Regions from separate parts of the Homo sapiens genome. Here regions 2, 3, 4 and 5 are each linked to region 1. Evidence: promoter capture Hi-C in 16 types of primary human blood cells and fetal thymus (Javierre and others, 2016). All regions are on one chromosome and are shown on one strand. Each heading gives the region's core, a stretch centred on a gene start or on the middle of the fragment in contact. The rest is flanking DNA. Distances are from core to core; before and after follow the strand shown.

Region 1 (2,678 bases), core at 118-2,617:
TAAATTAGTTCAACCATTGTGGAAGACAGTGTGGCAATTCCTCAAGGATCTAGAACCAGAAATACCATTTGACCCAGCAATCCCATTACTGGGTATATACCCCAAGGATTGTAAATCATTCCACTGTAGGGAACACATGCACACATATGTTTATTGCAGCACTATTCACAATAGCAAAGACTTGGAACCAACCCAAATGCCCATCAATAATAGACTGGATAAAGAAAATGTGGCACATATACACCATGGAATACTATGCAGCCATGAAAAAGGATGAGTTCATGTCCTTCACAGGGACATGGATAAAGCTGGAAAGCATCATTCTCAGCAAACTAACACAGGAAGAGAAAACCAAACACCGCATGTTCTCATTCATAAGTGGGAGTTGAACAATGAGAACACATGGACACAGGGAAGGGAACGTCACACACCAGGGCCTGCCAGGGGCTAGGGGACAATGGGAGGGATAGCACTAGGAGAAATACCTAATGTAGATGATGGGTGGATTGGTGCAGCAAACCACCATGGCGCATGTATACTATGCAGCAAACCTGCACATTCCGCACATGTATCCCACGAGCAACAGATGCTCATGATGGTTGTAAAGGATCAACTGTATTTTAAAACATAATTTAATATATACTTTTAATAAACACATTCATATTGTTCAAACTATAACCCATAGATTTTTTTGTTTCCTTTTTTTTAACTTTTATTTTAAGTTTAGGGGTACAAGTGCAGGTTTGTTACATAGGTAAACCTGTGTCCTGGAGATTTGTTGTACAGATTGTTTCATCGTCCAGGTATTAAGCCTAGATTTCTTAGAAGGAAAAAGACACCAAAAATATGTTCTTAAAGGTCAAGGGCTGGGTTTTGTATGATAGCTAGACCATTATCTGTAGGATTTGAGACCCTGGTCAAAGACCATAATAAAATATTAATCTTTGCTGAACACATTCACTTATCTAACCATCTAGTCAAAATAGCTTATGCGCTGCATTTTTAAAGAATAACAGGTGGCCTTTTGTCATTTTATGCCTCTCTATCTGAGCCAAACTATATAATCATTTGCATTATACCTTTGGCTCAAAAACGTTTATATGTTTAGGCTATCAAGGATTATTTTTAATGGTTCCTAAATCATTTTAATCCTCAGAACTACTTTGGCCAATATTTGTCTTTGTTAAAAGTTAAAGGTGAGCACTCAGTATTATGTGAAAATGAATGCAATATTTAATTTTTAGTTTTGTCCTGTTAACATTAGATGATGCCCAGATAGTAAGTCTTTTTGGTAATGTAATCAGTGGATGAGGAATCTGACCATTGTTGAAGGTTTTGTATATAAGAAGTCAATACAACATTGACCAAAATACTAACCAGCCAGAGAAACAGAATCCTAACTATTTCTGAGGAAACTGTAAGTAGAACTTCTGCTGAACAAAATTGTTATTTGAATTATTAGATTTTTTCTTTATCCCAAGTGATGCATTTTTAAAGGCTTAGATATTTGTTGCATATTCACCTGCATAAATGTATCTGTTTAAATTATGGCTTATTCCTCTAGGATTTGATTTATTTTATTCTTTTTTTTGTATGGACATGAGACTCTTAATTATGGAATGACAAATTTGTTTATTATTGCAATTAGTGCCTAATGTGAAAGTCTCATAATTTCTTAACTATTGAATTACAAATTTGTTTATTAAGTTCCTAATGTGAAAGTCTAGTCTCTGTGACTCTTCTTTTTGAGAAGGAATAGATCAGTAATCTAGTGACATATAATTGGCTGTATTAATATGCTATGTTTAATATTTAATATCATCCAAATCAACTGCTGTTGAATTGATCATTATTAATACGATTGTGAAACCTTATAGGCTATTAAAACATTTATTTAAATTATAAACTTTTCAAAACAGAAGTCTAGACCAAATTATATAAATCTCCCTGGGGATGTCCCTATAAAAGCTGGCCCAGGGTCATACTGAAGGAGTATTACAGTGGGGAAGAACATAGCCTTTGGAAATAGACTAGTTTAAAATATGGGCTCCACTACTTTCTATATATTTGGTTGGGCGAGTCCTCTTTTAGCCTTACCTTGCTTATTTGTAAAATGGATAATATAATGCTACCTACTTCATAGAGTTGCTATGAGAATTAAATGAGATAATAGTCATAATAACTATATTTAACTAACGTTTATGAGATGCCCAGCATGTTAAGAACTTTACTTTTGTTATCATAATGAATTCCCCTAACATAGAGAAATGTACTATTACAGGCCCTGTTTTATAGATGAGAACACTGTCTTAGCAAGATAGTTCATTTCACGTATACCATGTTGAACACACAGTACAGCACACAGTGAGTCCTCTGTATGTGTTAATTACTGGTATTTTCCTAGGACTTGGCAACAAGCATTTTGAGAAATTTATTCTGCCCTTGAACATCTTTGAGCCCATTGAGATGTTCTCCAACGCAAACAGTAGGTTAAGTGTCCTCACTTTACAATGGCAAATCACTTAATGGAGGTCATGTGGGTTCCTGAAATGTTTGATGAAAGCCTCTGGTTTGAATGTTACAACACTACTGGTTAGTCTTTATATATTAGTTTATCTCTTCCTAAAATATCACGGTAAAAACAAGGCTTAGTTAAAAACTGATTTTTTTTTTTTTTT
Region 2 (2,678 bases), core at 110-2,609, 870 kb before region 1:
AAGATCATGCCACTGCATTTCAACTTGGGTGACACAGTGAGACCCCATCTCAAAAAGAAAAGAAAAGAGAGAAAAGAAAAAAAAAGAAAGATTTGAATGAACAAGAATTACACTTAATGATGCAGTTATGAGCATATTCAATTCTTGAGTTCCAAGACTTTCAAAGTGATTTTGAATAAGCAAACATCTCCATCAAAGTTAAATATTTAATTTCTAGTTCATCTGCAGATAAATATTTCCTGAAAAAGAATCATTACATTCTAAAAATAAGATCGTTGGAGCTGTGAAACAAGAAAAAAATGTCTTGGCTTGAAAACAAAACAAAACAAAACAAAAAACTTGTATTATGACTTTGAATCTTTCTTTAATCTTGATTTTCCAAATTTTAATTTACTTGGAAGTAAGAGAAAAGAAATTGAAGGAGATTATTTTAACAAGTATTTTAACATGTAAATACAGGAAAAAGTTTATCTCAATTTCAGAAGCTGAAGAATGAGCAATTATTTTAAGAAACTGTTCACATAGATCTCAGCATCCTCTTGAGAATCTGATTTCACAAAAACTAGTTCTACAATGGCAGAAAGTTTCAATGTTTTCTAGGATTTTAATGCTTTAGGCGAATATATACCTTTACCATACCTTTTGGAGGCTGCAGAAGCCTGGAATTCTCAAACAAATGTTTCTTTTTGATAGGTAAGATGACTGTGTCTTTCAGATCCGTAATGACATCATCTAAACCTGCTATATCACTCCAAGTAACCTGGCAAAAGTTAAGGTCAACATGAATTTTACTACAAATGTACACTCACTAAAGTAAAAAGAACGCTCCCAAAATTACAAATGTTAATCTGATGATTATACATAAATAAGTTAAAATCATATATTAACATAAGTAAAGACTTTTCCAAGCAGTAATGAAATAAACTGCTATGAAACTGGAAAAAGGAATTTAATAGTCAACTATCTACTATTAAAAATCTGTAAGTCAGGTACTCAAAAATCTGCAAGGGTCTAATAAGCTAAATTCATTCCACTTGTAAGGAGAAAATACTCTGCTGCAAGAATACTGAGAACCAGCTGAGACATAATTTAGCACTGGCTGATGGGAAAGAGCTCATCAGGAATGTACCTATTTTATACAGGATGTTGTCAAGCATCACAGAAATTAATTTTAGAAATAAGGTCTTACAAAACATAGCTTCTGAATTTTATCCATCAAAAGTAAACCTATGGACCAGGCGTGGTCGCTCACGCCTGTAATCCAGCACTTTGGGAGGCCAAGGTGAGCGGATCACTTGAGGTCAGGAGTTCGGGACCAGCCTGGCCAACATGGTTGAAACCCCGTCTCTACTAAAATTACAAAAAAAAAAAAAAAAAAAAAAAAATTAACCAGGTGTAGTGGTGTGTGCCTGTAGTCCCAGCTACTTGGGAGGCTGAGGCAGGAGAATTGCCAGAACCTGGGAGGCGGAGGTTACAGTGAGCCAAGATCATGCCACTGCACTCCATCCTAGGTGACAGAGTGAGACTCTGTCTCAAAAAAAAAAAAAAAAAATTACAACTATGTTAAAACTTAAGGAAGTATCTTTATAAATAAAAACAGGGCATACGTATTTTCAAAATAGACAAGAAAAACCTGATTCAACTTGTCCTGAAAGGACTGGCACTTGTCCTGAAAGGAGCTGGAGTTGGGGCCAATCAGAAGCAATACTTTACAATAGATTCATTTCCTTCAAAATGTAAAAAAAAATGATAAAAAGGGAAGGTGCAAACCAGCAGCCAGATCTGAAAAAAAAAATAACTTTCACTGTAACAGCAACAAAAAACTAAGTCTGTTAGTACAGATTTATTCAGAAATTAATATAGGCAGGGTTCCAAGAAGGTACCATTGTAAATCTATAAACCAAATTCAAATGCAGGCTTAATTCTAGGGTGTGTGTATGTCTCTGTATACACAGATATTAAGACATTGCAGACTTTTATTTTCTAGATATGGAGATGGGACTACTTCATTCTACTTATTTATAGCAATATAACATTAATGTATTAGGCAAATATTTTCTATTTATAGAATTTATAAATGTATACTTATTGTTACAAAATATTGATATAGGATCTTATACATTACATCAATCTCATCCTCAAAATAATCCTTATGAAGTAGGTAAAGTAGGTATTATTATCTCTAGATTATACATGAGGGAACTGAGACTCAAAGAGGAAATCATTTGCCAAGGCCATTAATGGAAAACCTGGGATTTAGTATCCTGTGTTATCATACCATATTATGAAAATTTAGGTTTAAACTCTATAAAACAAAAATCCACATGACTTAAAGCAGTACGCTTTATACACCACAAAGGCAAATACATAAAAGTTTTACTAAACAAATGCGTACAGAAAAGAGTTAACAAAGTAGGCCTGAGACTGTTGTCCTTAGAAAGGCATATTTGCAAGATTGGCCCTTGGCTGGCATGTGGGAACTTAGATTTCAGAAGAGTGCCACAATTTCTTGACAAGAACAGCTCACTGTGCCTAAACTGTTTGTGCAAACAATATGGTTTATGGTGAAACATCCATTTTCCTTCTGGGAGTCTAGAATTTTGGTACATTTAAGGGAAGAGGAAAGCTATATAACCAGCCCCCAATAAATATGTTGGGGACTGAGTCTCCCGTGAGCT
Region 3 (2,678 bases), core at 86-2,585, 860 kb before region 1:
TCATATTCCTCATGACCTCTTCTTCTCCTTGACCATTCTATAACACGTTTAAAATCAATTCTCTTTTGCAACCTTCTCCTTCTTTGGCTATGGTGACTTTATGCAAGTGATTCCCCAGACAGTGGGAAAGAAGTGAGAAGAGGGATAACCAAATAATCTCTGAGGTTTTAAAAAATTATATTTGCCACCCCACAAACTTCCCCAAATTCTGATTATTTCTTTGCAGAACATAGTGTTTCAGTTGACAATCACTGCCACAGTGAACCACTATGACTGTCTGCAGTACTCTGTGTACTTCAGATGTATTCATGTAGAAAAGACTATCACCAGTACCCTAAACATCATCTTGGTTTTATTCTCACTCCTCTGGTCATTTTTTTTTTTAAGTTCTTACAGTGCTTTTACTAATAACTAGGTAGATAAAATAATATCTTAGACTGTTTAGATGAGGTATAAAGAAACACAATATAATCAATACCAATCCAGGTTTAAGAACAAGAACATTATTATTATCTTTCAAGTCCTTCGGTGAGGCCCTCTCCAAATACAGATCTTCTCGTCTCCCAGAAAAAAAAATCACAATCCTAAATTGAAATCATCTCTTGCTTTTCTTTAACTTAACCATATGTTTGATTCCCTAAGGTTTAGTTTTACATGTTTCAGAATGTCTACATGGGATCACACTATATGTACTCTTCTGTGACATTTTCATCTCACTATTTCTTAGAGTTGTTGAGCATCTGTATTTCATTCACTTTTCTCCGCGAATATTATGCTCTGGCATGTGCAGACCAAAGTATGCCACTCTGGCATAATAATTATTTTGAGTTGAGGGAAATTTAGAAAAAAACAGATACAAGAAAAGCTATCTGCCCTACTCCTACTTGCCTAAAAACAATAAATTCACAAAGGTCTCCCTCCTCTTCTCTTTACGAGGAAGGACGAAAGTTAATCAAAGGAGACAACTTTAGACACTTAGCCAGAGGAATCTGCATAACAAACTTTACCAACTAGTCTTCATCTACCATTAGTTTCCCACAGTTTGCTGCCCCTAGAGACTCCTTTTCTTTTGTCTGATCGCTTCTTTAAAAATTTGTTTCTTTGCCAAGATACTATATACACTCAAGTTCTAACCAAACTTTTGAGTTACTCATCTCTGGTACTCCTATTGGTTGCATGCTTGATACATGTTAATAAACTTGTTTGTTTTTCTCTTGTTTATCTATCTTTTGTTATAGAGGCCCAAATGAGAATTCAGAACGGTAGAAGGAAAAGTGTTTTTCCTCTCCTATATGTGCATATACCAACATTTATACAAATATTCAGATTGGTTCCTGCTTTTTTCCATTACAAGCAGGGCTGCTATGAGCACTCTTGTATGTATCTCCTGGTTCTTCGCTATATGCCCAGAATGAAACTTGTGGATCACTGACTATGCACATTTTCAACTTTACTAGATAATGCCAAACTATCTTCCAAAATAGTTATACTAATTTATATTCCCAACAGCAATACTTTTGTTCCTACTGTTCCACATTCTCTCCAGCACGTTATTGACAGACTTAAAACTTTACAACCTGGCAGGGGTGAAAAGGTATATCAATTTGACTTTAATTTGCATTTCCTTGATTTCTAATCAGTTTGTGCATCTTTTCATATGTTTATTGACCACTGGAGATTTTTCTTTTTTAATGTGTCTATTTAAGTTTCTTTGCCCATTTTTCTATTATTTTTTCTTACTGATTCAGATGCATTCTATATATGTCCTCAGTACAAATCTTTTAAGTTATAAAAATAATAGGAAACACTTATGCAGCACTGTTATATTTTACATTATATATTTAATTTCAATAGCAACCCAACAAGGTAAGTGCTATTATTATTTCTTTTACAGATAAGAAAACTCAAGACCCAAAGTAGTTAAATAAAACTTTGTGTTTTAGGATTGCCTTCCCTATTTATAGACTTTTGTTCTTCCACATGAATTTCAGGAAAAAATACAACAAAACGAAAATCTGCCAGTATTTTTGTACTGATGTTGAATTTAACTAAACTTTCAATAGTTTTATAATTTTCTCTATGAATGTGTTGTATGTCTTATGTTTGTCCGTTGTTTTATATTTTTGATGCTACTATATAATGCTTTTTTTAAATGACATTTTAAAACATGATGGGTATACAGAAACAGCTGATTTTCGTATACTGATTTTAAATCCAGCAAACCCATCAAACTCTCATGAATCCTGATAGCTTGTAAACATTCTTTGGCTTTCTATGTAGATTATCATATTATCCATTAATAATGACTATTTAGTTTCTTCTTTTCCAATCCCCACCTTTTTGACTTAGGCAGTGGCTAGTAACTCAGTAAAATGTTAAACAGAAGTAAAAGTAAACAAAGAAGTAAACAAAGTAAACAAAGAAAAGCCAAAAAAAAAAAAAAAGTAATGAAAAGTAATGAAAGACAACAGGCTTGCTCCTAATCATAAAGAGAATGTTTCCAATTCTTCACTATAAAATACATTTGTTTTAGTAAATGCATTTTATCAAGTTAAAGATCGCCTGAAGCCGGGAGGCAGAGGTTGCAGTGAGCCAAAATCATGCCACTGCACTCCAGCCTGGGCAACAGAGCAAGGCTCCGTCTAAAAGAAAACACAAAAAACAAAACAAAACAAAAA
Region 4 (2,678 bases), core at 101-2,600, 840 kb before region 1:
AAGCTCCAATAGAAAGATAATATAGAACACAATGGAGTACTATTCAGCCATTTAAAAAAATGAGATCCTGTCATTTGCAACAACATGGACAGAACTGTAGGACATTATGTTGAGTGAAATAAGCCAGGCACAGAAAGACAAACTTTGCATGTTCTCACTCATTTGTGGGAGCTAAAAATTAAAACAGTTGAACTCATGGAGATAGAGGGTAGAATGATGGTTATCAGAGGCTGGGAAGAATAGTGGTGGGGGGTAGGAGGGAAGTGAGAATGGTAATGGGTACAAAAATACAGTTAGATAGAAAAAATAAGATCTAGTATTTGACAACACAGCAAGGTGACTACAGTCAACAGTAATTTATTGTGCATTTTTAAATAACTAAAAGAGTATAATTGGAATGTCTGTAACAAAGAAATGATAAATGCTTGAGGTAATGGATACCTCATTTACCCTGATGTGATTATAACACATTGTATGCCTGTATCAGCATATATCATGTAATCCATAGATACACACACCTACTATGTACCCATAAACTTTTTTAAAAAATGAAAAAAAAGCTAAACTAAAAAATAAAAATAAGAAAGAATAAGATAGAATCAAGGAAAAAATAATGGAAATTTAAAATTTCAAAAGATTGGAAGAAGTAGAAAGATGAATTGATAACTCCATTCTGTAAAAAGAAGAGAACTAAAAAAAAAAAAAGACAACAGCAAAGTTCAAAGAACATATTGCTGTAAATCTACTTTCCATGGTTTTATGTTTTTAAACTTTACACATAATTTTAAATGAGTGTATATAAAAAGAAGTTATATATAATTTTCTTGTGTTATCAGGGTAATACTAATCCACAATCTGCATTTCTACGTAACCTTTTTCTCAAGCAGCATTGCCAAGTGTACTTTTTAAAAACTTCTACCAAAAAATGTTTTCTAGAACTTGGAAATTTACAACCTACAATATTTTATTTAGCTTTAATACAGTACTGTTCAAATGATACTATCTGTGAAAAATCAGGATTGAACAAAACCAGAATTGCTTCAGATGTCTAACCCTACTGTAGCCTCATTAGCAGAAGTTTTAAGGCGTAGATGAAAGAGTGATCCCCCTAGGATTAAATTGGGACCTTCATAATGCCCCTGCCTATGGTTTCTTAAATGGGGAGGAGGTGGGAAAGATTGAGTAAGAATAACAAAGATACAAATGCATTAGTTAAAATAGAAGAAACAATAGTTGAAATGTTAATTCTCAATTCCTGTAACAACAGATTGATAGATGAGGCATAAAACAAGACCAGATGCTGTGGTTTTCAGGATGCACTTGGCTTCCCATCCTTTATAACCTAGAGCAATTTTTGCTGTAAGTAGGTCACTTGCCTTCTCTCATTTACCTGATTCTAGGAAAATGCCCTTGAAAGTATTTAGAAAATAATAGGTACTGGTACTTAATATTTTAAAAATTAAGATCGCATAAAACCTTCCTCCTCCCACCCGTTTCTCTAATAGCCAGAATAACTGATAACCTTGAAACATATGTGAAACTAAAATGAACAAGAATAATTTGAGGTCTTTTATCTTCTAAGCACAAGTACACTAAACTCTGTGTCCATTCTGTTAGTTCCCGTAATTCACTTTGGTTAGCACTGGCATAGTACTCAGCTCACAGAATTATAGTTGAAGTCTTTATTCTCCTATAATATATTATCATCTTGAAAAAAGAGGATGCCTAGAACATAGGAGAGGCTTAACAAGATTTAACCTGACTAGAGAGAAAAGAGGATGCCTAGGACATAGGAGAGGTATAGATTTAACCTGATTAAAGAGGAAAAAAAAGGGAAGGGGGGAGGAAAGACAAGTGGTCCAAAGGTATGACATACGATTCAAACCATTTTACTGATGATAATTATATGATTGCCCTATCCTGATGTGTCCATTAGAAACTAGTCCAATCGGGGAGTCTTGGTATCTATAGGGTATAAGAACGTGAACTTGACAGACCTGGGTTTGAATTTAAGATCTACTGTATACTGACTCTGTTAATTTGGACAAGTTACTTATGTTCTCAAGCCTCAGTTTCCTTATATTTAATATGGGAACAGTAACAGTACACATGCCATGGACTTGCACTAAGAATTCAATGAGACAATACATGTACAGTGCTGAGCTCAATGCCTGGCACTTAGCAAGTGCTCAGTAAACATGCTGGTGTAATACCTCAGATGTTATTTTCATTATACGATGAGGTGATATTCTCTCATTCCTAGATTCTGTAAGGACAATGATCTTTTCATATCTCCTCTGTGTTTGCATGAGGACCTTACCTCTTCAGTTTTCAACCATGGCATCTTGTCTGAAATGTTTATCTTCTCTGACTTGTGAAGAGGCTGTGCCTCTCTGTCCTGCTGACCTCTTGGTTCTCACATTCCCATTCTTAATACACCCCTCTGGCTGAGTCTTACTGATCAGTAGTCTATAAAACATTTATGATAGTTATATAAAACCTGTAAGATTTCATCCCTACGACCCAAAGATAATAAAGTTTAACGTATTTATCGATCCATGAAAATTATGGATATTTCTCAGTTCAGAGACCATCATTAATATTGGCTGTTATTCCCATCTGTCAAGTAACAATCATTTATTGAGTATACATTCTTTGCTTTTATGAATTTCTAAAGA
Region 5 (2,678 bases), core at 127-2,626, 820 kb before region 1:
CCTCTCAAACTGTGAGAAAGTAGATTTCTGCTGTTTTCGCCATTCAGTCTATGGTATTTTGTTTTGGCACCTTGAGCAGACAAATACAATTGCCAACATATTCATGAAAAAATTCTTGGCACTACATATTGCCTCATTCTTCCCAATTCAGTCACTACTTTTCTTTATAATTCTACCTGTACATGTTTTCTGCAAGATTTATAACAAATTATACTTAGCTGAATTTCTAGACAGAAATAGAAACAAATCCCCCAACACTAGATGGATAGCTTTAGAGATCCAATAATTTTGTGCCATGTAGTTGTAACACTTCAAATATATATATTTTGGTATGTCTTTTTTGAATTAATTTATTGCTTAATTGTTTGGTCTTCAGTCACCTTGACTAAATTTGCCTGATGTTTCTCTGTAAATAATCTCAAGGCTAGGTGACCTAGGTCCTGTTTGGGCCAATTATTTTTATTTTTATCTCTGAGAAGCTTGCCTCAAAGAGAACTTATGGTTAGGAGCCAACAGTCCATTTCTTTCACATACATCCTGTTAAACTATAAGAAACGAGGATCGTATTGAATAATATAAATGAGTAGAAGGAAGATAAAGCAATTTGCTTGTCTTCTGCAGATAGTAGTTTTAAATAAATTTTTATCTAATAGTAAACAGAACATGAGTAATTCTTGACCATCAAGAGAAGGACAAGTCCTTATAATTGGAGTGGAACTGGACTAGAACTAGGCTATTGTCTCAAGTGGGACGAAGACTCTAGAATAGATCAGTGAGCTTTGTACCTAAGGCAATTTCATGTTATGCTCTATTGCTTTCCACCAAATGGGCTTCTTTCTTTCTTCCCCCCCGCCGCCCCCAGTAATCTTCTCCATCTCATCCATTCCCTCTTCTTTTTCTCTTCCTCACAGTTTTTATATCTGTGAACCTGGATGAATTAGTAGATTTAAAGAAGTAATGGGATTGTAAAAAGCTGCTGATCTTTATCCTCTTTAAAAATCTGTCAACACCTCTCATCTTTTCCTTGTATGCTGCCTTCCTATTCCTGTTCCACCTTTCCATATTGTCCTTCACTTCATGGCCAGGCTTTAGCCCTGCCAGTGGTGGCCAGAGACATGAATTAACTCTGTTTGAGTCATTTAGGAATAAAAAGATTATTACTGACCTCAATTCTAGAATAAAAATACTGTAGTTTTTCTCTCCCACACTATAATTTTACTAAAATGTTACATTGTTCCAGAGTTAATCAGGATACTCTGTGAAATTAAACCTTAATTGTGATTTGGCTACTTCCATCTTAGAGAAAATTAAAAGAGAAATATTAGAAAATGATAATTTCAGGCTGGATGCAGTGGCTCATGCCTATAATCCCAACACTTCGTGATGACAAGGCGGGAAGATTGCTTGAAACCAAAGGTTTGAGATGAGCCTGGGCAACATAGTGAGACCCTGTCTCTAAAAATAAAAGTAAAAAATTAGCCGGGTGTTGTGGTGTGCCCCTGTAGTCCTAGCTACTTGAAGGCTGAGGTGGGAGGATCACTTGAGCCCAGGAGGTTGAGGCTGCAGTGAGCCATGATTGCGCCATTGCACTCCAGCCTAGGTGACAGAGTGAGACCCTATCTCTGAAAAAGAAAAAAGAAAATGATAATTTCATCAGAACTTGTTTGAAAGAGAAACGTTAGTTTCTTGAACAAAATTAGGAGTGCACATTTGAGGGAATTTTGGTTATTTCTACTGCAACTGAGGAAACAGGTATATTACTATGTTTGATTTGTAATTAACTAGGCCTCATAGCCCTTTTTTCACCCCTTCAGGGAACAGAATATTTCTTAAGTTTGACATTTCCTCTGTTGATGTTCCCTTTGGAAAACATAAAATATAAATAGTGATTAAGGTCTTTCCAGATAGTGTCCCATACCAAAGTGTAGAAAGAACATACATAATGTCCCATACCAAAGCGTAGAAAGAACATAACATGACATGATAATGTAAAGTAATATATGATGATATTTTTATCTCAGGGCTATATTATATCCAGCTGATAAGTTGTATTTGTATGTTTGTTTATAATTGAAAAAGTATGTAGTCTTTTAGTCACGGAGCTTATGAGTACTTAACTGAGCATCTCTCTGATACGTAAAAAAACTGCTAGCATGAGAAGTACAAAGGTACAAAGATTTACCTAGTAATTTTTTTTTTTAATCTCTAAGAAACTTCAGTGGAAGCAGGACTGCTTCCACTGTAGTGAAAGCTAAGATGTAGTTAGGAGTTGTCAAGCTTTACACTAGAGCCTATATGAAGTTTTGATTCTAAGTGTTAATGTACCTTCTGACAACTGTGAATGAACCTTGTTCCTGGGGAGCGCGTTCTGGTTTTCTCTTTGCACAGTTAAGCTGAGACTAGCATCATTCTAGTTTGCAGGTGACATTCTCTGGGAAGCTAGTCTATGGGGGAGATGACATCTTCTGAACCTAGTCCCCACAGAGAACTTTGAATGAGTGGAATCAAGAGGTTGCCTGCATTCTTGCTCATGTCACAATGCTGGACATGTGACTTCAGAGAAGCATGTGCCAGGTCAATATGATTGGGCTGTTCTCACAATACAAGGCCTTGACCATAGAGTGATTCAGAGGCAAATGCAGCCTTCTTAGACTCTTAACCAAAACATTGGCATGACA

The links. The method cuts DNA at HindIII sites, captures the fragments that hold promoters and counts their contacts. A CHiCAGO score of 5 or more calls a contact.
Region 2: a contact is called between a fragment that was not itself captured here and the fragment with the promoter of LIPF in region 1, in 1 of 17 cell types (neutrophils). The highest score is 6.6, in neutrophils.
Region 3: a fragment that was not itself captured here is called in contact with the fragment with the promoter of LIPF in region 1 in 1 of 17 cell types (neutrophils); the score reaches 7.8 in neutrophils.
Region 4: a contact is called between a fragment that was not itself captured here and the fragment with the promoter of LIPF in region 1, in 1 of 17 cell types (neutrophils). The highest score is 5.7, in neutrophils.
Region 5: a fragment that was not itself captured here is called in contact with the fragment with the promoter of LIPF in region 1 in 1 of 17 cell types (neutrophils); the score reaches 6.3 in neutrophils.

The regions. Positions count from the first base shown.
Region 1 is chr10:88,663,075-88,665,752 of GRCh38, forward strand. LIPF (lipase F, gastric type) reads left to right here and starts at 1,368. Exons shown (of 10, transcript NM_004190.4): 1 at 1,368-1,417. The HindIII fragment of the contact is 12,070 bases long and covers 1-2,678 here.
Region 2 is chr10:87,789,671-87,792,348 of GRCh38, forward strand. It overlaps ATAD1 (ATPase family AAA domain containing 1), which reads right to left. Exons shown (of 10, transcript NM_001321967.2): 4 at 640-760. The region is part of intron 1 of LOC124902476 (a long non-coding RNA gene); the gene reads left to right. Among named protein-coding and RNA genes, the nearest start is that of ATAD1, 27 kb to the right of the region's middle. The HindIII fragment of the contact is 4,695 bases long and covers 1-2,678 here.
Region 3 is chr10:87,805,905-87,808,582 of GRCh38, forward strand. The region is part of intron 2 of ATAD1 (ATPase family AAA domain containing 1); the gene reads right to left. Among named protein-coding and RNA genes, the nearest start is that of ATAD1, 11 kb to the right of the region's middle. The HindIII fragment of the contact is 2,747 bases long and covers 1-2,678 here.
Region 4 is chr10:87,822,400-87,825,077 of GRCh38, forward strand. It overlaps a transcript of ATAD1 not described here and the pseudogene CFL1P1. Among named protein-coding and RNA genes, the nearest start is that of ATAD1, 5.5 kb to the left of the region's middle. The HindIII fragment of the contact is 8,192 bases long and covers 1-2,678 here.
Region 5 is chr10:87,838,862-87,841,539 of GRCh38, forward strand. It overlaps a transcript of ATAD1 not described here and the pseudogene CFL1P1. Among named protein-coding and RNA genes, the nearest start is that of ATAD1, 22 kb to the left of the region's middle. RefSeq lists a silencer at 2,391-2,678. The HindIII fragment of the contact is 1,798 bases long and covers 478-2,275 here.